Linked DNA regions of Homo sapiens: regions 1, 3, 4, 5, 6 and 7 are each linked to region 2. The links are contacts of gene promoters, found by promoter capture Hi-C in human tissues and cell types (Jung and others, 2019). All regions are on one chromosome and are shown on one strand. Each heading gives the region's core, a stretch centred on a gene start or on the middle of the fragment in contact. The rest is flanking DNA. Distances are from core to core; before and after follow the strand shown. Region 1 overlaps EPSTI1 (epithelial stromal interaction 1). Region 2 holds the start of ENOX1 (ecto-NOX disulfide-thiol exchanger 1). Region 3 overlaps DNAJC15 (DnaJ heat shock protein family (Hsp40) member C15). Region 4 overlaps EPSTI1 (epithelial stromal interaction 1). Region 5 overlaps LINC00400 (long intergenic non-protein coding RNA 400). Region 6 holds the start of LINC00428 (long intergenic non-protein coding RNA 428). Region 7 overlaps LINC00400 (long intergenic non-protein coding RNA 400).

The links. The method cuts DNA at HindIII sites, captures the fragments that hold promoters and counts their contacts. A contact is called where the count stands out against the background at its distance.
Region 1: a fragment that was not itself captured here is called in contact with the fragment with the promoter of ENOX1 in region 2 in 1 of the 25 tissues and cell types used here (lymphoblastoid cells).
Region 3: a contact is called between a fragment that was not itself captured here and the fragment with the promoter of ENOX1 in region 2, in 3 of the 25 tissues and cell types used here (IMR-90 fibroblasts, dorsolateral prefrontal cortex and lymphoblastoid cells).
Region 4: a fragment that was not itself captured here is called in contact with the fragment with the promoter of ENOX1 in region 2 in 3 of the 25 tissues and cell types used here (H1 embryonic stem cells, lymphoblastoid cells and mesenchymal stem cells).
Region 5: a fragment that was not itself captured here is called in contact with the fragment with the promoter of ENOX1 in region 2 in 5 of the 25 tissues and cell types used here (bladder, dorsolateral prefrontal cortex, hippocampus and 2 more).
Region 6: a fragment that was not itself captured here is called in contact with the fragment with the promoter of ENOX1 in region 2 in 2 of the 25 tissues and cell types used here (heart left ventricle and lymphoblastoid cells).
Region 7: a contact is called between a fragment that was not itself captured here and the fragment with the promoter of ENOX1 in region 2, in 4 of the 25 tissues and cell types used here (H1 embryonic stem cells, bladder, dorsolateral prefrontal cortex and 1 more).

Annotation. Positions count from the first base shown.
Region 1 is chr13:42,888,637-42,892,597 of GRCh38, reverse strand. The region is part of intron 10 of EPSTI1 (epithelial stromal interaction 1); the gene reads left to right. Among named protein-coding and RNA genes, the nearest start is that of LINC00428, 18 kb to the right of the region's middle. The HindIII fragment of the contact is 3,443 bases long and covers 147-3,589 here.
Region 2 is chr13:43,785,692-43,789,933 of GRCh38, reverse strand. It overlaps ENOX1 (ecto-NOX disulfide-thiol exchanger 1), which reads left to right and starts at 2,962. Exons shown (of 17, transcript NM_001347969.2): 1 at 2,962-3,282. The HindIII fragment of the contact is 9,406 bases long and covers 183-4,242 here.
Region 3 is chr13:43,042,766-43,046,772 of GRCh38, reverse strand. The region is part of intron 1 of DNAJC15 (DnaJ heat shock protein family (Hsp40) member C15); the gene reads right to left. Among named protein-coding and RNA genes, the nearest start is that of DNAJC15, 21 kb to the right of the region's middle. RefSeq lists enhancers at 1-624, 966-1,025, 1,126-1,175. The HindIII fragment of the contact is 4,545 bases long and covers 437-4,007 here.
Region 4 is chr13:42,919,762-42,923,908 of GRCh38, reverse strand. The region is part of intron 7 of EPSTI1 (epithelial stromal interaction 1); the gene reads left to right. Among named protein-coding and RNA genes, the nearest start is that of LINC00428, 49 kb to the right of the region's middle. The HindIII fragment of the contact is 3,812 bases long and covers 1-3,330 here.
Region 5 is chr13:43,154,603-43,159,010 of GRCh38, reverse strand. LINC00400 (long intergenic non-protein coding RNA 400) reads right to left here. Exons shown (of 3, transcript NR_047013.1): 2 at 6-378. Among named protein-coding and RNA genes, the nearest start is that of LINC00400, 44 kb to the right of the region's middle. The HindIII fragment of the contact is 3,377 bases long and covers 1,214-4,408 here.
Region 6 is chr13:42,870,536-42,874,811 of GRCh38, reverse strand. It overlaps LINC00428 (long intergenic non-protein coding RNA 428), which reads left to right and starts at 2,068. Exons shown (of 5, transcript NR_126389.1): 1 at 2,068-2,254; 2 at 4,110-4,211. RefSeq lists enhancers at 1,373-2,161, 3,742-4,276. The HindIII fragment of the contact is 4,549 bases long and covers 1-3,979 here.
Region 7 is chr13:43,134,767-43,138,982 of GRCh38, reverse strand. The region is part of intron 1 of LINC00400 (long intergenic non-protein coding RNA 400); the gene reads right to left. Among named protein-coding and RNA genes, the nearest start is that of LINC00400, 24 kb to the right of the region's middle. The HindIII fragment of the contact is 5,587 bases long and covers 1-4,216 here.

The DNA.
Region 1 (3,961 bases), core at 619-3,118, 900 kb after region 2:
GACATTTCAGCCTTAACATGTCTAAAACCTAACCTTTGATCCCCTTTACCCTAGTGCTCTGTCTGCACATTTTCCTGTTTCCATAACGGTGCAATCCCTCTCTCACACCCACACAGCTAGCCATCAACAAATCCTCTTGACTCTTCCTTCCCAATACATCCAATCCAACAGCTTCTCACCACCCTTATCATCATTATCCTGCTTCCAGCCTCTCTCAGTGCTCATCCAGATGCTTGCAGTAGTCTCCTAGATGGTTTCCTTACTCCCACAATTACTTACCTACAGTCTGTTCTCGATACAAGACTGACAGAAGTCAGATTCTGACTCTGCATACCCCTCCAATGGCTTTCGCCACCCCCAAATCACTTGGAGTAAAAGCCGAAGTCCTTCCAGCAGCTTACCAGGTGCTGCATGATCCAGACTCCTTCTTAGCCCTCTGGCTCTCCTGCTGCTCTCCTTCTTCATTTCTCTCTAGCCACACCAGCTTTCTTGCTGAGAGCACTGGGTGCTCTGTCTACACTATTCTCCAAAATATCCATATGGTTTGTCCTCCTTCATTTACTTTCTTGAATTCCACGGTCTCAGTGAGATTACCTTGGCATCCTAGTTAAAGCTGCTGCCTGTCCTCTCACCCTGGCTCCTGCAGTCCCCTTTCTAGGCTCCCCTCCCTTTTTCTATAGCACTCTTCAACTTCTAACATACTTTTAAAACATAATTTCCTTGTATGTTTTGTTGACTGTTTACTCTTCGCCTCTCCCTGTGGTGATGTATGTTCCACATTCTACAAGGGTGGGGCCATTGGATTGTTGTGTTCAGTGGTGTATCCCAGGCATAAAACAATAACTGGAACTTACCACACACACAAGGAAACAAGTGGTTGTGATTCAACATCACAAACACAATAGAAAGACTTAGAGCCAGATGATTTCACATGCTAAAATGATTAGATACTGAATTTAAAATCACGATGTATAAAACGTTTGATGAAATAAAAATTGGATTTGAAATAATGAGGAAAAAATAGGAGATAATGAAAGACAACCAAGCAGACTTCAAAAAGAATTAAACCAAAATGCCATTTCTTATCAATTATTTGGCAAAAAAAACCCTCCTAAAATATTGACAATATACTCTGTTGGCAAGGCTGTGGGGAAGTGGGTACTTTACACATTATTGGTGGGCATGCAAAATGATACAAACACTATCAACATCTATGTCTTACTGTCTTCCCATTAAACGAAGACCAGGCCTATACATATTAGAGCCAAATTCTATTAAACTTTCAAGGAACAGATTATTTCAAATGTCTAGAAAGTTTTTCTGATTAAAAAGAAGGAAGTATTATCCAAAATGATTAAGCAGGTAAACATGACTTTGAATTAAAATTAGACAAAGACCGTATAGAAAAAAAATAGACTATCACTCATAAACATAGATTCAAAACAATCACAAGATTTTGACAGAATAAATATGAAAAAGCATAACATATCCTGATGAGATAGAATTTGTTCCAGAATTGCAAGCTTGGCTTATTGCAGACAAAACAAAAAACCTACTGAGATAATTCACCTCATAAATTATAAAAGAAACTCCATACGATCATCTCAATTAGTACAGAAAAAGCATTTGCTAAATTACAATACTCACTTGTGGTAAAATCTTCTAGGAAACTAGGAATAGAAGGGAAATTTCTTTGCCTCATAAAGGGATCAAAACTGTATAATAATAATAAAAATACATTAAAAACATTTCCGTTAAGATATAAGGATTGAAAAGGGGGAAAAAAAGCCTTTATAAATCACAGATGATACAATTATTTACGTAGAAAATCCAAAAGAATTTACATTCAAATTATTAGAAGAAAAAAAGGCTTGGCACTGTTAGTAGATATAAGATCAATATGTAAAAACTACATTTCTACACATTAGGAATAAATAAAAAATCTAATAAAAAGATCCAACCAAAAATATGAATGACCCTTTTTAAAAAATTCTAAAATTAGCCGGGAGCGGTAGCTCACGCCTGTAATCCCACCACATTGGGAGGCCGAGGTGGGCGGATCACGAGGTCAGGAGATCGAGACCATCCTGGCTAACAAGATGAAACCCCGTCTCTACTAAAAACACAAAAATATTAGCCGGGCGTGGTGGCGGGCTCCTGTAGTCCCAGCTACTTGGGAGGCTGAGGCGGGAGAATGGCGTGAACCTGGGAGGCGGAGCTTGCGGTGAGCAGGGATTGCGCCACCACAGTCCAGCCTGGGTGACAGAGCGAGACTCTTTCTCAAAAAAAAAAAAAAAAAAAGAAAAGAAAAAAAATTCTTAAATTTTGTAGAAAGATGCTGTGGAATAAATAAATGGAGAGTTATACCTTGTTAATAGATAGGAATGAGCTCTCAAATAAGCTATAGATTCACATAAATTGGAATCAAAGCAAAGAACTGAGAGTAACCAATTCACTCCTAAAGATAAAGAAGTATATATGGGGACTTAATTGTGTATTTAATGCGGTATGCAGTTGGCCCAGCACACCCAACATTTCTGAATTTTTTAGTTTTTTGTATGACAGACGGGGCAGAGCACATCACTGGGGGGAAACAGACTCTGGCAAATGCTGTGGGGACAATTGAGTACTTACATGAAATTAGGTCCCGACATAATTCATAAAAAAATTCTAACTGGATTAAAGCTTATAAGTAGGAAGGAAGACTTTTACATTTTAGAAAATAAAAGAGGCTGTTTATAAAATAGAGCTGAGAAAGGATTTTGTAAGACCCAAGGTATAAACAACAATAACAAAAAAGATAACTATATCTACATTAAATTTTAAAACATCTGTTCATAAAAGAATATCATACAAAAGTAAGAGGAGAGGCCATAAATTAAACTTTTATTTAGGACATGTTCTGCAAATAACAAGTGGACAAAATTAATATATAGAATTAGCAACTTAAATTATATCAATATATTTGAATTACTATTAAATTAAGGATATGTCACCATTTAAAGACTGATAGATGAGGACTGAGCTTCTCCAAAGAATGAAAGAGGAAAGCTATGCCTCAATTCACAGAGGCTTGGAGGAAATATCGGAACCAGTAAAAAGCCAGAGACAGAGTAAACAAGGAGGAAGGCAGAAATTATGATAAAACCAAGCCATGGAAAGAAGCAGTGGTTTCTTGAAATGTCATATAGACACTTAAGCAGTAGGCCCCCAATAAGTGTGTATGTTAGGTGGATTGATTTTTATTTTTTAATCATTGTTAATTTAAATCAGTCTTCTCATATTTCTTAACATATACATTTATTCTTCAATAATTGCTTTTATATGTAAAAAATATATTTTTTTATTTTTCTAGGGTTCTCTATTAGTTTTTTCGAGGCACCTAAGGTGGGTCACTTAAAAACATCCCTTTAAATAATATTTCCTCTGATACAATAGGTGAGGCTCTTTGGGATGCTGTGGAAACTCTAAATCCTATGTCTTCAGGGGCAGTTAAGCATTTCCTATGACCAATGAGGCAACCTGAGATTTTAATTTCTCAAAGTGTTAGAAGAAACAGCAATGGTGTGTATTCCATACGTAGCGTGGCCCAGCACTGCAGAAGGCTTGATGGAGGTTTCTTGACCCTTTGCACATGGTAGGAGTGGAGACTCACCAATCTATCTCCCTACATCAAGGTCCTCTTAGAAGTCACCTTTCTGCTGTATAATACAGCGTAACCCTACTTGAGACATTTCCATTTAAATTGCTCTGTTCCACATGTGTTCATCCTGTCCTTGCTGTAACTGTGTAGGTGGGTGACAACATTTTCGAACTGTATATTTGTCACCTCTGTTAGTCTATCTCTAAGAACACAGCCAATAAGACATCACTTGACAAGCCATTACCTTATTGACCAAGACTATTTTGTGAATCAAATGCAATGTGACTTGAAAATCAAATCGTTTCAATGGTCATTTAA
Region 2 (4,242 bases), core at 1,713-4,212:
CAGATTAATAGGAGAAAAGACATACAAAACTTATTTTCATGTGCATAATCCAAGGGAATTGCAGGAGAATGATTGCCCAATAACCCAGTGGGGTACACAGATGCTCATATACCCTTCTTCATAGGGGAAGAATAGAAAGGGAAATGTGGATGATTTTAAGGGGGATAGTAAAGAATTTTTAGTGGAATTCAATGAGCTTGGTGAACATAAAATGGCCTGGGATAAAGTCTGTTGGGCCCGCAGAGGAGTGTGACAAAAGTATGTCCAGTTGTGTTGACAGGCTTCAATCTTTCTTCCTACGACGTGAGTTAGATTAATAAAAACTCAGGGAAGGCAAGTGCGTTCTTCTTTGGCAGATCTGGTTTCTAGGCAGATGAAAGACCTTCAGAGAACAATTTCATCCTGTGCTTTGGGTGAGACAGACGACTGAGAGACAGGAGGCAGAGAGAGGGTCAGAGAGACTTTGAGGCTGCTTCTTCAGTCCAGCATGTCAAAGTGCCATATTTTCCGGTATTAGTTTCTGAGCCCAACAAAACCCTAAAAGCAACTTTCTAAGGAAAATGAAGCTTTAAAATTGTTTTGGAAAATTCTGACTCATACCCATTCTATAGGTTGGCTGTCAAGGGTCCATTTTCGGTATCAGAGTTTTTCTGCTTCTTTTGCAAGTTTTAGAGCTTCCTTTCAAGTGAGAAATTTAAGTAAGCTTTCAACCTAATAAAAAAGCTCCAATATCACAACAAATGTCTTCTAAGAAGATTGTCAATTGAGTGAAGGTAGATAAATCAGTTAAAGGGACCCCCACTAAAGAACACACGGTACCCAAATAAATCCATTTTAATTTTCACTTTATTTCAGTTATATTTCACAGCTGTGGTATCATGAGTGGAGAGAGAAGCAGCTCATAGGCGGGCCTGAGTTCAAAGGAATTGAAATTTAGCATGAAATGCAAAATTGAAGACTTCTGCTTCTAAGACGATGATTGTAGAAATACCGAGGTCGAAGGATGTGGACTTGGTGCTACACCAGACAGCAGAATTAGCAGTCTGGGGTGACCCTGCATGTATTGGTCAGTGTCCATGAACACTACTCTTTACAGGAGAAAAATGCGTACCTGATAAGCTATTAGAAATGTGTATTTCTGGCCTGGAGCGGTGGCTCATGCCTGTAATCCCAGCACTTTGGGAGGCCGAGGCAGGCGGATCACTTGAGGTCAGGAGTTGGAGACCAGTCTGGAAAACATGGTGAAACTGTGTCTCTACTAAAAACTAAAAACTAAAAAAAAAAAAAAAAAAAAAAAAAAAAAAAAATTAGCCGAGCGTGGTGGCCGGCGCCTGTAATCCTAGCTACTAGGAGGCTGAGGCAGGAGAATTCGCTTGAACCCGGGAGGCAGAGGTTGCAGTGAGCCGAGATCGCGCCACTGCACTCCAGCCTGGGTGACAGAGCGAGGTTCCGTCTCAAAAAACAAAAAACAAAAGTGTATTTCTCTTAAAACTGTTTTCCCCATCCTTCTGCTCTAGAAGGGACAGTATAAACTGCTGGTGAACACTGACTTTCACATTTTGAGAGGTTAGGTTCTGAGCTTTGGCCCCCTCACACCCAGGGCATCCCACTGGGGTCCCTGCAGAGTGCTTCTACATGCATCCTTTGTTAAGGGTGCACAATGGATAAGTATTATTTTCTTTCTTTGCATTGGGGTTCTGACCGCCAGGGGGAAAAATAGCCACACACAAGGAAATGGCATAAGTTAAAATCAGGCAAGCCTAGTGGGGTGGTAATGACTTTCCCAGCATCCAAGTCTTTGCCTTCAGGTTACGTGAAGCTAGAAAACAATGTCATTCATTCAACATTTACAGGGAACTCACAAAGTACAGAGTACTATGCTAAGCACTGGAAGGCATGCAAAAGTGTGCAAAACACAATCCCTGCATTGAGGATTCCTGCCAGAAAGGGTATTTCAAGTATTACCCAGACCTTACGACCCTTGAAGAAATGCTTGTGTGAATAAAATCCCACTCAGAATTTAAAATAAGCAAGGAAAAGTATACTACTAAGACAATATATCTGTTAAGAGGCAGAGAATGTAAATGTGCTTTAAACATTTATTTCTGAAGTATTACAATGTAGTTGGGATGGAGGATCGGGGGATGTGGGTGTGTGTGGGGAGGTGGTGGGAGCGGTTCTTGGACGAGCCTGACTCTAAGGAGGCACTGCTTAGATGCCTGCACAGCTAAGTTGAATCCTAACAAAGAGGAGGCCGGCATTCTTACCTGGGAAGTGGGTAACTTTGAGAAAAAGTAGCCTCCAAGGAGGAAAAAAAGGCAACATGTCACCTGGGGTTAGGATCCCCTCACCCTTACCAACCTGAATGCTGACCGCACCCCGGCCGAGCCACTCTGGGCCGCACACCCCGCATCATCTGCCCAGGCCACGCGGCCCAATTCCACCGTCTACCCCAAGCCCACAATCCTGTAACACGCCCGCTCCAGCCTGGAGTCGGCCACGTGCGCCCGGGTTCTTCTCTTGGCCCTTCAGCGGGCCCGGCCCCTCCAAGGTCGCCGTAGCAACCGTGCGGTCCCTCTCTCGGTTCCCCCGCTCCCAGTAGAGCAGTCCCGACCGCGGCGGCGGTGGCGGGAGCGAGCGGCCTCGGCCCCTCCCGAGAGGGGGCAGCGCGACCGTGGGCTGCGGGCGCCGCCTCTGCTGCATCGGTGGCTGCGCGCTCCGCTCGGCTCTGCCGGGCTGGGATCCGGAGCCCTAGCGCGCCTCGCTGACTTCCCCTCCTCCTCTGCTGCCGCCCCGTGGGCAGCTTCTCCAAGCGAGACACGCGTTCGATCCTCCTTCCCCGCGTTTACGGATTTCCGGGGTCGTAGAATTTTGCCTCGGTCCCTACGAGCATCTCTCGGCCTCTCTCCCCCTCCCCTCGCGACTCCCCCACCCCGTGGGCGCGCGCGCACCCATACACTCACACTCGCAGGCGCGCGTGCGCACGCCCGCGCGCCTCCAGCCGCGGAGTCTCCAGCGCCCCTCAGCAGATCCCCGCTCTCCCGGGCGCCGCTACTCACACAGGCTTCCAGCCGCCACGGGGCGTCCTCTGTCTGCTGCAGCGGCGGCGGCAGCAGAGGGAACGGCGACTGCAGCCCGGCCGCGTCTCCCAGCTCCGTGCCCGGGACAGAGTCCGGGAGAAGCAAAGGAGGAGGAGGACGCCGAGGCTAGGAGGAGCCGCGCCGCGCCCGGCGCCCCACTCCGCGCAGCGGGTTGCCTCCGCTCCCCATACGGCGGCCCCAGGTAAGCAGCTCCGGGGCCCGCAGCCTCCCTGGGGCGTCCGGGCTCCGAGCCGGGGTCCTCTGGTCTCACCCCCGCCACGGCACCTGGATCTAGACTGAGAGGGGAGTGGGCGAGGGGGGAGGGGAGTGGAGCTAGAGGTGAGGCTGGTGAGGAGGGGTGCGTGGACGCGTGGGGGCTTCGGTGCAGCCCCCACGCCCTTCCCCGCCGTGCCCCGTCTCAAGCTCCCTCACTTTTACGCGCCCGGGGGTGCCCAGCGCCCCAGACAGCTGTTCCCCGCTCTCCCCTCCGCCCGCCAGCCAGTGTCAGCTCCGGGCTCCGCGCCCGCCGCGCGCCAGTCACCTCCCCTGCACCTTGGACAGCGCACCCCGCACCCGTCTCCCCCTGCGGGCGTCGCCCCCGGGACCCGTTCCTGCCCACACAGTGTTCCCGCTGCCCTCTTCTTTCAGGTTTTCACCCTCCCGCTCTGCATCCCTTTTCCTCCAGCCTTGGCGGACTCCGCTCTGCTGCGGGCCGGAAACTTTCCTCCCCGCCTAGTCTGCGCTGGGTACTGTTGTTATTCGTGACTGTCCCCTCTCGCGGGGAGCTCGGACACCTTGGACAGGTCTTCGTCGGCGGGAGCGCGCCCTGCCTGGCCCAACGCGAGGTAAAGGAGGCACTGGGGCAGCCGGACTCGGCCGCTGCCAGGGTGCAGAGCCCGCGCCTCGGCCGCTGGACGCCGGCCGCCTCCCCGCCTCTCCGGACCCGACACGTGCGAGCCTCCCACGGACGCGGCCCCTCCCAGACCACCCCACGTCCTCCCCCTGCACGGCCACAGCCACCCCATAGGTTGGACACCCGGGGCTCGCGGGTCCTGATTGGCTGAAGGCGTAACCCCGCCCTCTTTCGGAAGGGGGGTGGTTCTGGAGTGTTGTGGTTGTCATCCCGCGGCGAGCACATGGGGAAAGTGGGGTCGACAGGTGG
Region 3 (4,007 bases), core at 1,460-3,959, 740 kb after region 2:
CAAAAGCTCAGCTCGAACCGTAACAAACACGGACCAGAAGAGTGTGCAGTTGCAAGATTTAATAGAATGAAAACAGAGCTCCCGTACAATGTGAGAGGACCCAAAGGGGGTTGCCCACTCTCTGCTCCAATGCCTGGGTTTATATCCCAATCACTGCCCCTCCCCCTGTGCTCTCAGGCGATATATGATTTGACTATTTCTTTACCTCCTGCTTTTAGCTTAATTTGTATTTTAGTGAGCCCTCTTTACTACCTGATTGGTTGGGCGTGAGCTGAGTTACAAGCCCTGTGTTTAAAGGTAGGTGCGGTCACCTTCCCCAGTTAGGCTTAGGAATTCTTAGTCGGCCTAGGAAGTCCAACTAGTCCTGTCTCTCACCACCACCGAGATGTCTCTTGTAGCTCATATTTTATGTGTACCATACTGGTGACCGAAATTATGTTTTGAAATGGGAAAATATAATGGACAATGCTAGTTAAACTTAATTAAAAATCTAACATATGGTCATGCTTCAAAATATCCTGGACCAGGTAAATATATTCAAAAGTCTCACGGAAGACAAAGAAAATAAAGTTAGGACCTTATGTCTGGTAAATTTCCTTACAAAAAAAAAAAAATGAAGATAATCCACAGGTTATGTGGAAAACATGAAAGAATAACTAATTTGTTAAACAAACATTAAGGAAAATAAACTCCCAATAAAAAGGTTAGGTAATTTAGCAAACAGGCACTTGAAGGCTATTTCCCATCTCTGACTGGTTCATTAATTAATTCAATAAATACTCAGTATTTACTATGTGCCAGTCATGATTTTAAGCCCTAGGGATATATCAGACAAAATCCCTATCCTCATGAAGGTACATTTTAGCAAGAGAGACAGACAACAAACAATTTTAACAGGAAAAATATATAATTATTTTACGCAGTGATTTGTGCTATGGAAAAAAATTAAGCAGATAAAGAAGTAGGTATGTGTTTGTATGGTGAGAGTGAGGGAAGAGAGAGACCCTCTCACATTGTTTTATATTTTATACTCAGTACCTGTTTTAAGAAAAAAACAAGGAAGTGAAATCAAAGACAGGCAGCCTGGCCCCAGGCCCAAAACCACGCCCGAGCCTGCATGGCCTAAACCTAGTAGTTAAAAATCAACTCATGACTTAGAACCCGATGTTACCCATAGATTTCAGGCATTGTATGGAAGAACATTGTGAAACTCCCTGCTCTGTTCTGTTTCACTCTGACTACCAGTGCATGAAACCCCGTCACATATCCCCTAGATTGCTCAATCAATCACAACCCTTTCATATAAAATCTTTAGTGTTGTGTGCCCGTAAAAGGGACGGAAATTGTGCACTCGGGGAGCTTGGATTTTAAGACAGTAGCTTGCCGATGCTCCCAGCTGAATAAAGCCCTTCCTTCTACAACTCGATGTCTGAGAGGTTTTGCCTGCGGCTTGTCCTGCTACAAGAGCAACAAATTTAAAGTGAGTAGGGCAAGCTTCACTGAAAAAAATGACTTTTGGAAAAAAATTAAAGCAAGAAAAAGGATTCCTTAGATTTTGGACTAGCAATGGGAACAAGTGTAAAGTCCCTAAAGCACAGGTGTGCCCAGTGTGCCTAACGAATAGCCAGAAGGCCAGTGTGCATACAGCAGGAAGAGAAAGAGAAAAAAATAGGCAACAAGGTCGAACAGGTCACAAGGGGAGCAGATCATGCTGGGCCTTATATGGTCAACATAAAGACTAGCTTTTCTCCGAGTGATACAGTACATCATTGTTTTGAGCAGAGGCCTAAGATTATTTCAATTAAAATTCTAAGGATCATTCTACTTGTCATGTTGAGAATAGATTGTAGAGGATGAAAAGCAGAGGCATGGGGATGAGTTGTAAGTCTATTAAAATAATCCATGAAAGAGATAATGGTCACTTGGGCTACAGCGATTAATGATGGAAATGAGGAAAGTGGTGAGATACTAGATAGAGTTCGGAGGTAAGGCCAATAGGATTTGCTGAGACACTGGATATGGAGTCAAGGTTTTGAAATGAGAAAATATAATGGACAATGCTAGTTAAACGTAATTAAGAATCTAACATATGGTCATGCTTCAAAATACCCTGGACCAGGTAAATATATCCAAAAGTCTCTCGGAAGACAAAGAAAATAAAGTCTTTGCAACCAAAAGGAACTAAAAGGACCTTTTAGTTGTCTTGAGCAACTAAAAGGAAAAGAGAAGAGTCAAGGTTATTGTCTTGAACAACTAAAAGAATGACACTAACTGCCTTTTGCTGCAAGGACTGTGAGAGGTCTGTGGCAGAGAAAGGGTATGTCATGAACTCTCTTTTGGACTTACTTTCTAACAATATGCCGTGACGAGTATGATAAAGCCTAAGTGAAACAGTATGAGAATTCCTAACACCTAGAGGGTAAATGGAGAGGTCTCATCTACTAATGGAAAAGAAGAATGAGCCAGATGTTTGGAAAACATTCATTCTTTGTTATCTTGCAGTGAGTTAATTCTCAAGGGTTAATCACAAGCAAATCACTTTCTGCTGAACTCAGTGTTTTATGCTGTCTTACTATTAGGTTCAGTCTCCACAAAGAAAACTCTTTGAATTTAAACAACAGCAAGTGGAAAGGAGAAAAAAAGAGAGGAAACAAGAAAGACTGCTGGCAAATCAATATAATTTGGGTAAAAGAGGTATTATACATGCAGATTAGAATAAGGAGGGGAGGAGAATTTACATTCAAGAAAAAGTGTCAGACACAATAAAATGACAATAACGAGAATTTATAAAATTATCCTGCCCTAAAATCTTCAAGCCAATATAAATTTCAGACTTTCATATCTAAATTGAACCAATCTACATTAAGACACCCTACCTTTACCATTATTGTTCCATTGCCAAAAGCAAATACATTTGAACTTCTCCCAAAACACCAATTCCCACGAAACCCTTACATTAAGCAAAAAAGAAAGGCAAAGCTAACTACATTTCTATTTGCTCTGTTTTTAAGTTGCTTAATTTCTCTTAAACCACAGGCAAGCATTAGTATCTACAGCAAGACTAGTGAATAAATAAAAGGGCGAAACAACAAAATCAGAGGCCAAACATGTTAGGAAACAAAACTCTTAGGCTTACCCCAAATGAATGTTACTCCACTCTCCAGCATAATTAAAAACTCCTCAAAGTTAAATCTTCACTATAGATAATGATTTTTTAAGAATAATCTTTTTCACACTGTCAGAAAAGGTCTAGAATAAGTAAATAAATAATAACAAGAATGATCTTTTAAGTACTGTTTTGCATTTACTCAAAATAACAGTGTGAGTCATGGCTCTACTTTCTCATAATATAAGAAGCTTTTGAGGTCAGGCATGGCAGCTCATGCCTGTAATCCCAGCACTTTGGGAGACCAAGGCGGGTAGATCAACTGAGAGTCAGGAGTTCGAGACCAGTCTGGCCAACATGGTGAAACCCCGTCTCTACTAAAAATACAAAAATTAGCTGGGAGTGGTGGCACACGCCTGTAGTCCCAGCTACTGGGGAGGCTGAGGGGGGAGACTCGCTTGAACCCGGGAGACGGAGGTTTGCAGTGAGCCAAGATCATACCACTGGACTCCGGCCTGAGTGACAGAGCCTTTCAAAAAAATAAAAATAAACAAATTTAAAAAGCAGCTTTTTTAAACCAAAATGTGAATAAATGTGACTGGTCAGAAAATCTTGCTCCTGTCATCAACCATGTCCTTCCTGACAGCCTGGAGAGCACTTGCAGCCCCTGAACTCATCACAGGCTTGCCAAACCAGGTTGCATATTTGGCTTTAAGTTCTTGAACCCAGGAACATGGTGACAGTTAATTTTATGTGTCAACCTGGCTACACTATGCTTACCCAGTTAGTCAAACACTGATTTTGGGGTTGCCATGAAAGTATTTTGGAGATGTGGCTAACACCTATGGAGTTTATCTTTGATAATCTATGTGGGCCAATCTATATGGACCAATCATTTGCA
Region 4 (4,147 bases), core at 175-2,674, 860 kb after region 2:
CCTGAAAAGATTTTTCCTCTTGTACTTTTCTCCTTTAAAAGTGGATCTGCCATTGGCAGATGGGGATTTAATAAATACTAGAAAATTATGTCAATGTAAAAGATTACAAGAAAAATCCTTTAGTGGTTACAAGAAAATTCCTTTTGGCTTAGGACTTCAGACAAGAGATATTTACAGGGTTCACTTTTACATGTGGATTAATATAGTTCTCTGTATTGTGTGTGTAGGCAGAAGTACCAGCATCATCAGACCTTCCTCAGCGACCATCGCTGCATATTTCTAGTCAAATATGAAATGGTTTCTAGTCTCTGGTTTGCTGCCCCCATTTTTTATTTATTTATTTATTTTTAGACAGGGTCTCACTCTGTCACCCAGGCTGGAGTGCAGCAGCATGATCTTGGCTCACTGCAACCTCCACCTCCCAGGTTCAAGCCATCCTGCCACCTCAGCCTCCTAAGTGGCTGGGACCACAGGCACGCACCCCCACGCCCAGCTAACTTTTGTAGTTTTTGTAGAGACAGGGTTTTGCCACATTGCGCAGGGTGATCTCAAACTCCTGGGCTGAAATGATCCACCCACCTTGGCCTCCCAAAGTGCTGGGATTACAGGTGTGAGCCACCGCACCCGGCCTTATGCCCCTACTTCCTCAACGAAGAATAACGATGTGAAAAAATCTTATCCTGGTGTTTCACTTCCCCAAATCATTCAGTGGTCCCCCATATCTTCAAGGATAAAATCAAAATGTCTTAGCTTAGGCACAAAGTCCTTTCCTCTCTCTGTCCCTCCGTCTCTCCTTTAATTCTAGATTCTGTCTCTTTCTTTAGAATGGCCCCTTTCTAGTCCTCTGGGGTCTGGAGGACTGGCCTCGAGTCTAAATCTTTGCTTCTGCAAAGGGGTGAGGGGAAGCAAAGCTTTTGCAAGCAAGGTAAGGGGAAGCAAAGCTTTTGAAATCAGGAGCAAAGATTTAGATGCAGATCAATCTCAGGCCCCACTGCAGACCTCCTGAATCAGAGCTTGTATTTAATACAGTCCATGGAAGATGTGTGTGCACGTTAATGTCTGAGGGGCCAAGCTCTATAGCTCATGCCTCTCCAGCTCTCCTCTCTCACACTACTGTGAGCACTCAGTGCAGGTTGATTATTGTAATTTTTATCTACGTGTCACATGCTCATTCATTAAGAAGTCAAATAAAGTACTTAACATGTGTCCCTTTGCGCCGCTTGAATCCCACTTCCACCGCAACATTTGAACACTTCCCTTTGCTGCTGTAACAAATTACCACGAATGTAGTGACCTAATAGAACAAAAATTTATTCTCTTAACACTTCTGGAGGTCAGCAATAAAAATGGGTTTTAAAATGCTAAAATGAGGGTATCAACAGGAATGGTTCCTTTTGAAGCTTCCGGGGGGCATCTGTCCCCTGTCCCCGCAAACCCTTGGCACACGGCTGCATGGCTCCAGTTTAGCTTCCATCTCACCCAACCTTCTGCACCCTCCCTGACCTTTCTGCCTTCCTCTTATAATGACCCTTTTGATTACAATGGGCCCACCTGGACTATCCAGGCTAATCTCTCCACTTCCAGATCCTTAATTTCTGCAAAGTCCCTTTTGTCACATAAAGAAACATTCACAGATTCCAGGGATTGGGACGTCTTTGGGGGGCCATTATGCAACCCACCACCTGTTTCTTTTCTTAGTTAGCTCCGAATATCTGTTAATATGTGTTGGTATCTCTTGACTAATCAATTTTAGACCTTATTAACTCATTTCTTCCTCTCATTCTTATAATTATTCAGTAATTTGAGCTTTCCCTATTATGACTATATACACGTTTTCTCACTGCCAAGCCAGTCGGTATACTCTGGTTATATCTTCTGTACAACTCTTTAAACATTTTATTTTAGCGTTTTCTTAGTTTCCTTTGAACATTTGACTGTCTTCTGACAGCTTTTGTGACTGTTCTACAAAATGCCTCTTGACGCAAATTTCTAAACAATTTTCCAACTTATGCCTGTCAGATAACTTGTGGATTTTTTTTTTTCTCTCCCTCCTGGATCCCTCTTTCCTCCTGCTTTAACCTGTCCTGGGTGTTTGTAAGCCTGGCGCACAGCTGTTGTTCTGGGACTTTCCTTTAACACAGTAGTTCTCAGCCTCCTCTGCACACTGGATTCACCTAGGGAGCTTTAAAAATCACAGATACCTGGGTTGCACCTCCAGAGAGCCTGCTGTATTGTGACCTGGGCTTCAGGGTTTAAAAAAGCTCCCCGGGCCATTCTAATGTGCAGCCAAGGTTGAGAATCCCTGTTTTAAAGTCATCTTGGGAATTGCTTTTATTGCCTTCCCATGTTGGGTTCTCTGATTTCTGGGCCTCATTTCTTCTATTTTCTTGCTTTATTTCTTTGTTTTGGTGGAGCATATTACTTAGTGGCTTCCCAAGAGAAGACACATGGAAGGTAAACATGTTCAGGTCCTTCCATGTCTGAAACTATCTTTATTCAGCTCTCATACTTTGCTTGCATTTTTATTGATGACTATTCCAAACTGGAAATAATTTTCCTCCAGAATTTTGAGGCATTGCTCTTCTAACTTTGAATACTGGTTCCTGAGAAATCCAAGGCCATTTGAATTTCAGGCTTTATATGAAGGATTTTCTCTGTTTCCCCTGAAAATATTTTAATATCATCTTTTCTTTTTCTGGCATTCTGTAATGATGTGATTTAGTGTGAAAGTCTTTTTTTAATTCATTTTCGGTCTGGAAATTCATCTCTAGTTCTAGATGATTTTCTTGTGTTATCTCTGACTTATATCCTTTCATTTTCTCTTTATGGAATTTCTATTATTCAAATTGTAGACCTCCCGGATTTATCTTCTAACTTTAGAGATTTTCTCCTGTAAGTTATCTGTGACTACCTTTTTTCTATATTTTGGCATATTTTCTTGACTTTATCTTCTAAATATTTTACTGATTTGGTTTTTTTGGGGGGAAGAAGGGGAGATTTAAAAAAATGTCTCCAAACTCCTCCTTTTTTCTTTGTTACTTTAAAAATATATATATCACTTCTTACTTCTCAGAAGAAACAGTACAGGAAGCAGAAAAAAACTTCAAAGAGAGGGACTCAGAGGCTCACTGGTCAGTATGCAGGACTTTATAGAGTCATTTCATTCTCAGCCTGGCATTTGTCCACTGCTGCTGTCTTTACACATATGCCTGGTTTAGTTTATCCAGAAAATACACTTTTCATTTCCTGTTGGTGTTTGGTGAATTAGCACCTGCATTTTCAAAGCAGGAGCAGGTATATGGGGGTGAAGGGCTTCTACTGAGACTATCTAGTAATTCCTTCCTTTTTACCTGCCTATTATCCATCTGTCTTCCTCAATAGCTGGTGCATCCATTTCTTGGGCCCTCATGTTGCTCTGTGGAGAGAACTGGCTCCCCATAGGTGTCCTCTAGCCCCTTCCAGCAAGTCTTCAGGTTTGCTCTTTTCCTCTGTAAGTCACTTACTGTTTCTTTATCTACTTGGTCTTCATAGATTTCCCTCTGTGAATATGGATCTCTTGGTTTTGGAAGATAGAGCTTGTGTGTATTTCATTTTCTGCTTTGTTTAGGGTAATTTTGGGGAGAATGGAACAGGAACATCTTTACTCCACCATCTTGAAAGGAGAACTTAATGCTTGTCATGGGTTGAGACCCACACTTCTCAAAATTTATGTGGAAGCCCTGACCCCTAGCACCTCAGAATGTGACCTTATTCAGAGATAGCATCTTTACAGAGGAAATAAGTTAAAATGAGGCTCCTAGAGTGGGTTCAAATTCATTATGAAAAGTGTCTTTATAAAAAGGGGAAATCGGGACACAGAAGCATGCATACAAGGGAGATGATGTGAAGAGATGCATGATGAAGATGGAGTCTGCAGGCCAAAAAGAGAAGCCTGGAAAAGATATTTCTCACATAGCCCTCAGAAGGAACCAACCCTGAAGACACCTTGATTTTGGACTTCTAGCCTCCAGAACTATAAGATAGTAAATTTCTGTTCTTTAAGCCACCAGTATCACAATACTTTGTTATGGAAGCCCTAGCAAACTCATGCACTGCTATTTTCCATTTGCTCATGTGATGCTCTTCTCCCGGTATAGTCTGATTCCTA
Region 5 (4,408 bases), core at 1,653-4,152, 630 kb after region 2:
CTTACCCTGGAACCACCTTTGTCCAGATTTCTTGTAGACTAAATAAAATCCTTTTTATTGACCTATCCTCTGTTACTTGTAGCCAAACACATTCCTTTGAATTTAGTTGCAGTAAATAGAGCAGCACAGATAATATCTGAAAATACAGAATGGCTGAGTTGAGGTGGCAGGGCAGAGAGCAGTGAGGGTCCAGCTAGAATAGGCTGGATGTCTGTAACACTTGCTGGGTGGCGGCAAGACATTTGCGTTGGACTCTTGCTTGTCATGCCTTGAGATTCCAATCACGTGCCAGCTGAGGCTGTAGTGTTAAGGGAAATGGCAGGAGACATTTTGGATGTTGAGTTATGTTGGCTACTTCTTGAAGCTTTTGGCAAAGTCCTGCAAGAAGAAGATGAACACAGATTAGAGAAAATCTGTCAGGAGGGAGGAAAGAGAAGGAACTCTTCTGAGATGTTCTCTGTTAGTAGTGTGAGGTCTGAATTAACTGAGAGTTTCATAATTTGGAGACATGCTGGAGTCAGAAGCAGGGGAGTATAGACATAACAAGAAATAAGACTGACAACATTCCCAAGTTCCCAAACTCCCCTCATCCATCATTCTTCGACAGGCAAAGAAGGCAAGTCTGCTGGCAAAGGTCTGATCAAAATAGAGCCTCTGCACCCAACCTCTTATTCTGAATTGCTTCAGAACAACCACCATTAAGCCTATAAAGAGGGGAGACAGATGAAGCAGCCAGACCAGATCCTGGGCCATGGCCACCATGGAGGTGCCCTAATCAGATCTCCCTTCGAGAAAGAACTTGCAGTGAGAGTGGTTAGCTGACAGCCGCCAGTTCCTTTGGGATCCTGCTCCACTTTGGAGTGGAAATCATACTGTTTCTGAGCAGCTTCTAGATAATGACAAGTACAGTAGGCATCCAAGGTCCGGGCTATTTCTGCCCAATGTGTAGCTCTCTTAATGAGCTGTCTTTGCTCTGCAGTTCCCTGTTGAGTTGGCAAAGACTTCTGCCAGATCTGTGTCATAGTCTGAGGATTCTCCTGCCCAATCCTACTTCTACCCCATCTCTTGTGACAGGTGTGAGATTTACATCATAGTCTGAAGGTTCTCCCTTTCCAATCCAGCCTCCTTAACTTTTAGCTTTCATAAGTGTCACCACCTAAAAATAAATTGCTTACACTCCTAACTCCATCTCAGTGTTCTGCTTCCTAAAGAACCCAAACAGACACATTAGTTGCAGAAATTGACTTGAAGCAAAGATATCAGAAAGCCCACTAAGATTTTGAAGCAATTGCATGACCAGATAGACTCTAAGGCTGGTCAACAACAGGCTATGACCATTGAGCTCTGTTTAACTCCTAAGACAATATCAAGATCCCAAAACCTTGATCTAAAACGAAGTGAGCTGGAAAGGCTGTGCAATTTCTAAGGGGAGCGTCTTCTCTAATGTCTCAGGTGGGTCACAGAGGACATGAATGAGGAACATTTTCCCAAAGATCAGTATTATAGGCTGCCAGATGGGCTAACCAAGGAGTTTAATCCTCTCTCAACCTCATTATTCTAGATCAACAAAACTAGATATGTGGGGGGAAAAAAACCCACAGTGACGATTGTGTTTCCTATCATTCTTTTTTCCAATTGCAAGTTTTAATGAAAGGTAAATTAAACTTCAGCATCATTGCATTTGAAGCAGACACATTTTCTTTTAGTTATCAACTGCTACACCGTAGGAATCTACACCGAGATGTGATGGCATGGAGACTACAAATCACCCAGATGTGCAAGATTTGGTGCTAGCTACAGTAACTGGATGATCCTGTGGAGTTCTCTCTCAGACAATGGGCCACAGCATTCCACCCACAGTGGCTGTGGGAGAGGAAAGATATCTACAGATGGTGGGTGGCCTGTGGGATGGATTCTGGTAAGCACTTTGGCAGCCTATCCACAGACATCCCCAACTTGCTTTTAATTTGTCTTCCTTCCAAAGTAGAGGCTGAAAACCACAGATTTCTGCTTTCTCAAACTTTCTTTGCTGCTGAGACAGAGGAGAGGTCAGCTGGGGAAGCTTCTGGAAAGGTGTTTTTCTCTCTAATACTAGGAGAGAGGTACAAAGGGAGAGGTCTGTTCATCTCCCCTGCTTCCTTTCTGTAGTTACAGTCATCAGTCATGTGAGGATTTGATATCTGCAGCTGTGTTAGTTATCTTGTGACTGGGAAAAAGCAAGAAAATGGCAGAGACACAAATCCAGGCCCTGACACCTGGAACCACCCTCTTCAGACATCTTGCTGGGTAAACAATAAATGTTCCTAAAATTTCCGTCTTTGCTAGTTGGGTTTTGAGTCACTTGTAAGGGAATGTATGCTAATTGATCCAATTGCAGACTTCTCCAAAAGGAGTCTCCAGTTATTTTTGTTACCTATGTACATCTACCCTAAACTGTAAATTATATGTCTTCATATGGATCATGTAAAATATTAGAAAGTACATTAATATCATAACATTGTGAAATCTTATTTCTATGCAGTTTCATACTCACTAGTTAAGGAATATGTCATCTATTCACTGTCACATTGTCCAACCCCAAATCACTCATTCAGCTGGAAATGCTAATAAAATATCTAGTCCCATGAATTAGATTCCATACATTGGGCCAGGCCTAGAGATGCTTTTTCATCCTTGCAAGTGATAGAGGTAAACAAAGCATGGCACCGGGACTCAGACCCCTGGTATTGGGAGAGGACTTCCTGCTAAACCTAACTTTGCCACTGGATTCTTCCATCACTTGCCCCATGAGAGGGACAGAGCTCTAGATGTACAAAATGCTGTTATGCCTTCCTGCCAAGCAACTCCAGTGACTGGTGTGAGCCATCCAGGACAATGACTTTCTAATCTCTAATATTCTTTAGACATCATCCAGTCTACTGCCCTTACTACACAGATAACAAATTGAGGCCCAGAGCTATGGAGTGACTTGCTAAGCTCACTTCACTACTTAACAACAGAATGAGGTGGGAAATTAAACCCAGGTCTTTTACTCAGTGCTTACTCTTACTCAGGTGCTTTATCTATTTAACTTTTCTTTCCAAGTGGGAAAGACCTTGCACAATCTCTTCTTTTGTATCACAGTTTTCAAGAGATCTAATCCAGAGCAGTCATGATCATATCTAATAGATGTCCAATAAAGTTTTATTGAACAAATGAATGAATGGCTATAGTCTAAACATGGGAGAATTGCTTTGTGACTGCTGAAGTCAGACTTAGGAGCTGAAACGTGTTTAGAAGTTTTTCATCCCAAATTATCCCACTGAAATGAAGCATTCTGTTGCCACACTACAGGCATTTGACATCATAGGCACTTAACACTTGCTGAATTGAACTAAATGGAATTGACTCTCTGTGGGATCAAAAGTATCACAGACTTATACAGTACATATTTAAAAAGACTTCTTTGCTTTTCAATTATATTATTAATCAGAGCTGTTGAAAAATGAAGCTTTCTAAAAATATTGATGGGAAAACACAAAGATGCTTACATTTCTCAAAAATATGTAAGAAAAAATGATTTCAAAAATCATTTGCTCATGATTTCATTCATTAATTAATTGACCTTTATGGAACATCTCATGTCTGTCAGTGCAGATTATAGGCACAGTGGGAGACTCAAAGGTGAAACAGACACAGTATCTTCCTATTTCCAAAGTACTTCTATCTTGAAATGTAGATAAGATATGGATGTCTATATCTAATAAATAATTTGTTACAATAATTGGGTTATAAATACACATCTATATACATGTATACACCGTGCGCTCCCAGGAGAGGGCAGGTTCATGGACTTGGCCTTGGAAGCTGAGTGTCTCAAGCAGTGTGGATCCTCATTCATCCACCCTGAGGTTTTGGTGGTGCTTGCTATGGTCACATGTCAGCCTATCTTGACTTGGTAGCAGTTCTGTGAAAGCAAAGGTCTCTAACGTATCCTGGGGATCAGGGGCAAGTAGGTGGATGGGACATGGGGTGGGTTAGGAAAAGCTTCCTCAAGAAAGTGATAATTGACATGACAAGAGAAGGATGAGTAGGAGATAAGCAGGTGAAAGAAGAATGAAAAATATTCAACTTAGGGGAAGTAGCAGAAGGGAAAGAGGAGTCTGGGGCCAGGCAAGACTGGAGAGGCAGGCAGGGTTCTGAGCAGCCATGTTAATGATATTGGCATTTATCAGAAGAGAGGTAGAAAGCAGTTGAAGCATTTTAATTAAGAGGGCTTTTTGATATATATTTAAAAGTGCTTATTAGTGAGTCAAGGCTGAGAAGATATCTTTAACTACCTTGCAAGCTAATAATAGAGTCAGGATACTGGTGATAGACTTTGCAAACTGCTCTCAGAAGAATTCCTTCTTCAGATTTGATGGTCGTG
Region 6 (4,276 bases), core at 456-2,955, 910 kb after region 2:
ATTCAGCCCAGATTTAGAGAGCTAATTTTTAAAAAGAATTCAACAAAAAGATACTTAGATTGATATACAAATTATTTCTTCAATGCTCAAATATTTCTAAAATTCTCCTTATGGCAGACAGCAAAGAGAGAAAAACACATGATACTGCCTTGTATTTAAAATCATATTTTTGCAAAAACTATAGTTTAGATATTTTAAGTGTATACATATATATCATATTTATAAATTCTTCGTGACTGCTACTATTTTGATTGGTAGATTATCACTACTTGTTTGAGTACAAGTATGAATCATGTTGCACATCTAATTCCCAGTACATTTCTGCTCCATAATTCTTTAGAAAAAACATGCTTTTACAATGACACTGTGCTATGCCAAAATTTGTACTTAATTATGACACAAAGATAACTTTAGTTTGAACTTTTAAAAACAATTTATGATAGCACTGATTCATTTAACTGGATTTACAATGACATCTCACTCTAGTAATATCAGATGTTTTTACCGTCAGCAAAATAAAATTCCAAATGTTTTACTTTGATACCATGAATTGGATGAAAATAAAAGGAATCATTGTTGAAAATAACTGTTTTCCAATATGAAGCATCTGACTCCATTTCTATAAAAGTGGCATCATTTAATTGTTTGAAACTTTTTTTTCTGCCATTGGATCCAGCACCTTACCATCTATCGCTTTGTAGGGGAGGAGACCAGCTTTTCCTCTCTCCATCTTAGGTTCATGGCTGAGGCCCCTATAACAAAAGACAGATGAACCAGAGAAAAGCTTACATGTTTATTTAACATGCATTTTACATGAAATGGGAGCTTTCATAAGGAAATAAATACCTGAAGAAACAGTTAAACCTGTGTATTTTTTAAACCTGTGTATTTTTATGCTGGGTTTGATGAAGAGAGGAGAGTCATAGAGAAATATAATAGGGTGAAAAGTATGACATGATGATTATAAACTGGGGAAACTCAGCAAGGCCAGTTTGTTCAGTTTCCCTTCTGTGACCTTTTGTTTTCAGGGATAAGGATGTTCCTTTCTTCCTGGCATAGAGAGGGCACATCTTACATGAGAGTCTATGACCTCTTTCAGGGGAAGGTCAGAAAATCTTTCCTAGGTTTTATGAACTGCATCAGGGAAGGAGGCTGGGGGAAAGTCAGAGACACTTTCCCGCTTCTGCTGTTTTCCTCAAATTTCTTCCGTTTAAAATATTCAATACGCCAAGGAACCATATTTTGGAGCAGCATGCCCTGAACCCCATCAGCTTCACTTTTTGTATGTGTACAACAGACACAGAGTGCAGATTTAGAGAGGCAGTCATTTGATCCAAATGAAAAGCCATGCTTCACAGGATACTTTCCTTGTCTGCACGTGTCAAGTCCTCATGTTCATGCACAGTATGTATCTCAAATGTACTCTCGAATGAGAGTAGATACTAATAGTTTAGCAGATTCGTGTTTTCTATTTTTCATGTGGTGAGTGATGTCATATAGCCCCCATGGTAAGTGTTGATAAACATTTTGGGATTTATAGGTTTGTCATTAACATTCTCATGAACAAAGTATTTGATTTTCCATTACACATTTCCTTTCACTTTTTGAGCCCATTAATGCCAAAACATTTTTTGCAAAGTTAAAACGTGTTACTGTCAGGCCTCTGAGCCCAAGCCAAGCCATCGCATCCCCCGTGACTTGCACGTATACGCCCAGATGGCCTGAAGTAACTGAAGAATCACAAAAGAAGTGAATATGCCTTGCCCCACCGTAACTGATGACATTCCACCACAAAAGAAGTGTAAATGGCTGGTCCTTGCCTTAACTGATGACATTACCTTGTGAAAGTCCTTTTCCTGGCTCATCCTGGCTCAAAAAGCACCCCCACTGAGCACCTTGCGACCCCCACTCCTACCCGCCAGAGAACAAACCCCCTTTGACTGTAATTTTCCTTTACCTACCCAAATCCTATAAAACGGCCCCACGCTTATTTCCCTTCGCTGACTCTCTTTTCGGACTCAGCCCACCTGCACCCAGGTGAAATAAACAGCTTTACTGCTCTCACACAAAGCCTGTTTGGTGGTCTCTTCACACGGACGCGCATGAAATTTGGTGCTGTGACTCGGATTGGGGGACCTCCCTTGGGAGATCAATCCCCTGTCCTCCTGTTCTTTGCTCCATGAGAAAGATCCACCTACGACCTCAGGTCCTCAGACCGACCAGCCCAAGAAACATCTCACCAATTTCAAATCCGGTAAGCGGCCTCTTTTTACTCTCTTCTCCAACCTCCCTCACTATCCCTCAACCTCTTTCTCCTTTCAATCGTGGCGCCACACTTCAATCTCTCCCTTCTCTTAATTTCAATTCCTTTCATTTTCTGGTAGAGACAAAAGAGACATGTTTTATCCGTGAACCCAAAACTCCGGCGCCGGTCACGGACTGGGAAGGCAGCCTTCCCTTGGTGTTTGATCATTGCAGGGACGCCTCTCTGAGTATACACTCACGTTTCAAGGGTGTCAGACCATGCAGGGACGCCTGCCTTGGTCCTTCACCCTTAGCGGCAAGTCCCGCTTTCCTGGGGCAGGGGCAAGTACCCCTCAACCCCTTCCCCTTCACCCTTAGCAGCAAGTGCTGCTTTCCTGGGGCAGGGGCAAGTACCCCTCAACCCCTTCTCCTTCACCCTTAGCGGCAAGTCCCGCTTTCCTAGGGGGCAAGAACCCCCCAATCGCTTATTTCCGCCGCACCCCAACCTCTTATCTCTGTGCCCCAATCACTTATTTCTGCACCCTGACCTCTTATCTCTGTGCCCCAATCCCTTATTTCCCTGCCCCAACCCCTTCTCTGCTTTCCTGGAGGGCAAGAACCCTCCGCCCCTTCTCCCTGTCTCTACTCTTTTCTCTGGGCTTGCCTCCTTCACTATGGGTAAGCTTCCACCTTCCATTCCTCCTTCTTCTCCCTTAGCCTGTGTTCTCAAAAACTTAAAACCTCTTCAACTCACATCTGACCTAAAACCTAAATGCCTTATTTTCTTCTGCAATGCTGCTTGACCCCAATACAAACTCGACAGTAGTTCCAAATAGCCAGAAAATGGCACTTTGAATTTTTCCATCCTGCAAAATTCAATAATTCTTGTCGTAAAATAGGCAAACAGTCTGAGGTGCCTGACGTCCAGGCATTCTTTTACACATCAGTCCCTTCCTAGTCTCTGTGACCAGTGCAACTCGTCCCAAATCTTCCTTCTTTCCCTCCCGCCTGTCCCCTCAGTACCAACCCCAAGTGTCGCTGAGTCTTTCTAATCTTCCTTTTCTGCAGACCCATCTGACCTCTCCCTTCCTCCCCAGGTTGTTCCTCGCCAGGCCGAGCTAGGTCCCAATTCTTCCTCAGCCTCTGCTCCTCCACCCTATAATCTTTTTATCGCCTCCCCTCCTCACACCTGGTCGGGCTTACAGTTTCGTTCCGTGACTAGCCCTCCCCCTCCTGCCCAGCAATTTACTCTTAAAAAGGTGGCTGGAGCTAAAGGCATAGTCAAGGTTAATGCTCCTTTTTCTTTATCCCAAATCAGAAGCGTTTAGGCTCTTTTTCATCAAATATAAAAATCCAGCCCAGTTCATGACTTGTTTGGCAGCAACCCCGAGACGCTTTACAGCCCTAGACCCTAAAAGGTCAAAAGGCCGTCTTATTCTCAAAATACATTTTATTACCCAATCTGCTCCAGACATTAAAACTCCAAAAATTAAATTCCGGCCCTCAAACCCCACAACAGGATTTAGTTAACCTCGCCTTCAAGGTGTACAATAATAGAAAAAAGTTGCAATTCCTTGCCTCCACTGTGAGACAAACCCCAGCCACATCTCCAGCACACAAGAACTTCCAAATGCCTGAACGGCAGCGGCCAGGCGTTCCTCCAGAACCTCCTCCCACAGGAGCTTGCTACATGTGCCGGGAATCTGGCCACTGGGCCAAGGAATGCCCGCAGCCTGGGATTCCTCCTAAGCCGTGTCCTATCTGTGTGGGACCCCACTGAAAATCGGACTGTTCTACTCACCTGGCAGCCACTCCCAGAGCCCCTGGAACTCTGGCCCAAGGCTCTCTGACTGACTCCTTCCCAGATCTTCTCGGCTTAGCGGCTGAAGACTGACACCGGCCGATCGCCTCGGAAGCCCCCTAGACCATCACGGATGCCGAGCTTCGGGTAACTCTAACAGTGGAAGGTAAGCCCGTCCCCTTCTTAATCAATACGGAGGCTACTCACTCCACATTACCCTCTTTTCAAGGC
Region 7 (4,216 bases), core at 289-2,788, 650 kb after region 2:
CCTCAGCGTTTGGGCTTCAGGTGGGCAGATCTGAAATCCATCAAGTCCTCTCAGCCAATGTCTGTCCCTGAGGATCAACCATCAGCTTCATAGCTCTTTCATCCCTGAAGGGGCAGAGTACATGTGGGATCACATGTTTACTCCTGGTAGCAGAATCATGGCAAAGTTTGCTTCTCTACTTCCTGGAAGGGGTTTTGTGAGAACCTGTGCTCCTCTCAAAAGTAGGTTGACTTTTCTAAGAAGCTTTTGTGAGAAGGTAGGATCAAAGCCACTCTGTCATCTTTTACCCTCTCTCATTGACAACCCTCTTTCTCTTGAGTCTCCAAGAGACACCCTATATCACTGTGATAAAAAAAAACATTGACCTTGAGATCCCAGGTGCAGGAATTTGGCTACCCATTGGGTTCATTTACCTCTATACCCTTCTACCAAATTATAGGAAGAACCATTGAGAAGACCAACTTGGATTTGTGCAAATATAGTCATCATGGCAACCATACTTGTTCAGTCATTCAACCATGGAAGAACTTTCTGTTAATATTGGTATGGACCAGCCAGATGAGTCCTCAATGAGGACAGGCCAATACAAAATTCGGTGTAAAAAACATAGGTAAGAACGCAGAAGACCGGCATCACAATGAAACATGGTGACAGGACAGCATCCTTGAAGCTCCCTAAACAAATGGGAAAAGAGATTTCAAAACAGTAATAACCACGAGCAGATATTTATAGAGCTTGTGTGCTAAACGATAGTCTAGTCCCTGCAGCTAGAGAGGAGCACACTTGGTAGAAAAACAATTTTGCCGCTGCCCTGGAGGACCTTGTGGATTAATGAGGACACAGAAAGGTGGATGTGTTTTTACAGCCCCACAGGGAGGTTCTACAACACACAGGTGGGAAGAAAGTCATCTGAGAGCAGAGGGAGGTACCCGGCTTTTTTCAGAGCAACCAGGGACAGTTTCTCAGAGGATGTTCATCACTCAGGAATCTAAAAGGACAAGCTAGGATGACAAGCCAGCAGTGTTTGCAATGTCTTGGGCTCATTGAGCAGACAGTAGTGTTAGATGTCAAACAGACCTGGGTTTCGACCATAGCAGACTCACTGCGGGACGCACGGCCCTGAGCAAATTACTTAGCCTGGGTGAGCCTCCATTTCTGAATCTGTAAAATGGGAATAGTAATAAATATCAATCTCAGAGAATCATTAGAAGCATAAAACACCACAAGACATACAAACTGCTCGCTCTCATGCCCAGTACATTTGAGGCTTTCGATAAAAAATGACTTTTTTTAGTTTTCATATTTTGTGCTTCAGTTATTAAAACTGAATGATGGACCACATTTAAGAGAGAGAGTCCCAAAAGAGAGAGGATTGTTGTGGTTTCTGCCTTCCACCCCCACAACTTTGCACTAAAAAAGAAAAAAGAAAAAAAGAATGTAATGCGGCAGCTCCCCAAGGCATTACATTAGTGAAAAAAAAGAACTTGCTGGTTTTCCCTTTGAGCCCGACAGGCTTTGAGAGAAATCTGAAGAGTCATCCCTATGAAAGTGAAGGCTGACAACACTACCCCATTTCAGCATGCCTGCTTGGTTTACAGACAGCTGCCTGTGCGATCAATACTGCAGGGCTCAAGGTAGCAGGCTGTGTTCCAGCCCACCCCACACATCAGGGCTGCTTATTGATTCCAGCTGCTGCTGGAAAAAGCCAGGGCTCCTATTCCTCGATTTTGAGAGGCAGAATTGGGGATCTGGGGCTGACTCTTGAGAAAACTGGGGGCCCAGATATTCTCACAGGTAACTCATAAACTTGGGTCATCAGAGAGCTGAGTCAGCACCCAAAGGCGGCCGAGAAATTGGCTCTCTGGTGGCGGAACTCTCCAGGCTAGTTAGTGTAACAGGAGGGAGCTCTGCCCTGGAGTTCACAGCACTGGTAAGTAGCATTTATTCAGCATCACATACTGATGGCCAGACTTAGCAAATAAAAATACAGCATGTCCAGTTAAATTTGAATTTCAAATGAGTGATGAATTTTTTTTAGCATAACTACATCCCAAATATTGCAAGATGTAATTATACTTAAAAATTGCACATTGTTTGGCTGGGTGCGGTGGCTCATGCCTGTAATCCCAGCACTTTGGGAGGCTGAGGTGGGCGGATCACTTGAAGTCAAGAGTTCAAGACCAGCCTGGCCAACATGGTGAAACCCCATCTCTACTAAAAATGCAAAAATTAGCTGGGTGTGGTGGCATGCACCTGTAGTCCCAGCTGCTCAGGAGGCTGAGGCAAGAGAATCGCTTGAACCCAGGAGGTGGAGGTTGCAGTGAGCCGAGATCGTGCCACTGCACTCCAGCCTGGGTGACAGAGAGAGACCTTGTCTCAAAAAAATAAAATAAAATAAATAAAATAAACTGTACATAGTTTATGTGAAATTTAAATTTACCTGGGCATCCTGTATTTATGTGCCAAATATTTCATAGGACATTCTTTTTTTTTTTTTTTTTTTTTGAGACTGAGTTTCACTCTTGTTGCCCAGGCTGGAGTGCGATGGCGCGATCTTGGCTCACTGCAACCTCCACCTTCTGGGTTCAAGCGATTCTCCTGCCTCAGCCTCCCTACCAGCTGGGACTATAGGCTCCCGCTACCATGCCCAGCTAATTCTTTGTATTTTTTAGTAGAGTTGGGGTTTTACCATGTTGGCCAGGCTGGTCTCGAACTCCCAACCTCAAGCGATCCACCCGCCTCAGCCTCCCAAAGTGCTGGGATTACAGGCATGAGCCACTGTGCCTGGCTTCATAGGACATTCTTTTTTCTTTTTTTTGAGTCGGAGTTTCGCTCTTGTCACCCAGGCTGGAGTGCAGTGGCGCAATCTAAGCTCACTGCAACCTCCACCTCCTAGGTTCAAGCAATTCTCCTGCCTCAGCCTCCCAAGTAGCTGGGATTACAGGCACCCGCCATTACGCCTGGCTAATTTTTGTCTTTTTAGTAGAGACGGGGTTTCACCACGTTGACCAGGCTGGTCTCAAACTCCTGACCTCAGGTGATCCACCCGCCTTGGCCTCCCAAAGTGCTGGGATTACAGGCGTGAACCACCGTGCCTGGCCCCATAGGACATTCTTATACTGAAAACTTATTTGTTGTTGATCTGAAATCCAAACTTAACAGAGTTTCCCTTGCATTTTATATCTGGCGAGGCTACCACACACATACTTATATGCATATGGGAACAGACATGGTTCTGTCTGCTACAGTCCTGCCATCCAAAGCAGAGAATCACCCTCAGCAAAAGTCCAAACTTTTCCAGCTGGCATTCCGGGACTTCCACAATCTGCCTCACTCTCTGCCAGCCCTTTTCCTACACAGCCACTCCATTCTAGCCTAGATGGTCCTCTTCCTGACTCCTGAACATTTCCAAAAATTCCTACCGCCCCTCACAAAGGAACAATGACTTGTCATGCTCTCCCTCCCATTTGAAGATTCACACTCACCTGTGCTTCAAGACCCACTCAAATCTTATCTGCTCCTCAAAGTGTTCTATAATTACCTTTTCCTCCATGCCCCCAAAGTAGCCCCCATGTGGCTCCTTCCTGCTTGGAACCCGGGGAGTGTTTGCTTTCTCCCTCATTCAGTTGCCCTGGGGTTGCCTTGCCAGTTAATTTTCATTTGTTTCTTTAGCAAGCATGAGCTGACATCTATAACTGTGGCTCAAGAAATAATACAAATCTTTATCTGTTCTGAGCCCCCACCTGCCTGGCTGGTGGGCAAACTAATCCCGGTCCTTGTGTGGGCCCCCATGGTGGGACCATATAAGCTTCATATGACTCCCAGGCCGGTAGTGTGTATGAGTGCGTGGGGATGGGGTGGGTGAGGGAGGGGTAGGAGCAGATGCTAACTCCACTCTGTCTTCAAGTCTGAAAACACAGCCTGGTACACACATGTTAACTACCAAATTACACGGTCAGTCTGGCAACACCTGCTTCAGCCGGAGTGCAGATGAATGAGTTAACACTAATCAGCTCCTGGGACCCGACTCAGAAGCAACATCTTTGAGGAAGCCTTTTCTAACTTTTTGAGAAAGAAGCCAAAGCTTTTGCAAGGGCCTGTAGACGCCACCTGATTCTCCTTCCTCCCTTTTTTCTTGGCTGCATCTCCCATCCTGAGATGGAGCAGGGACCCCTCTTAGGGGCCTGTGCCCCCCTCACTACCACAAGCATGGAAA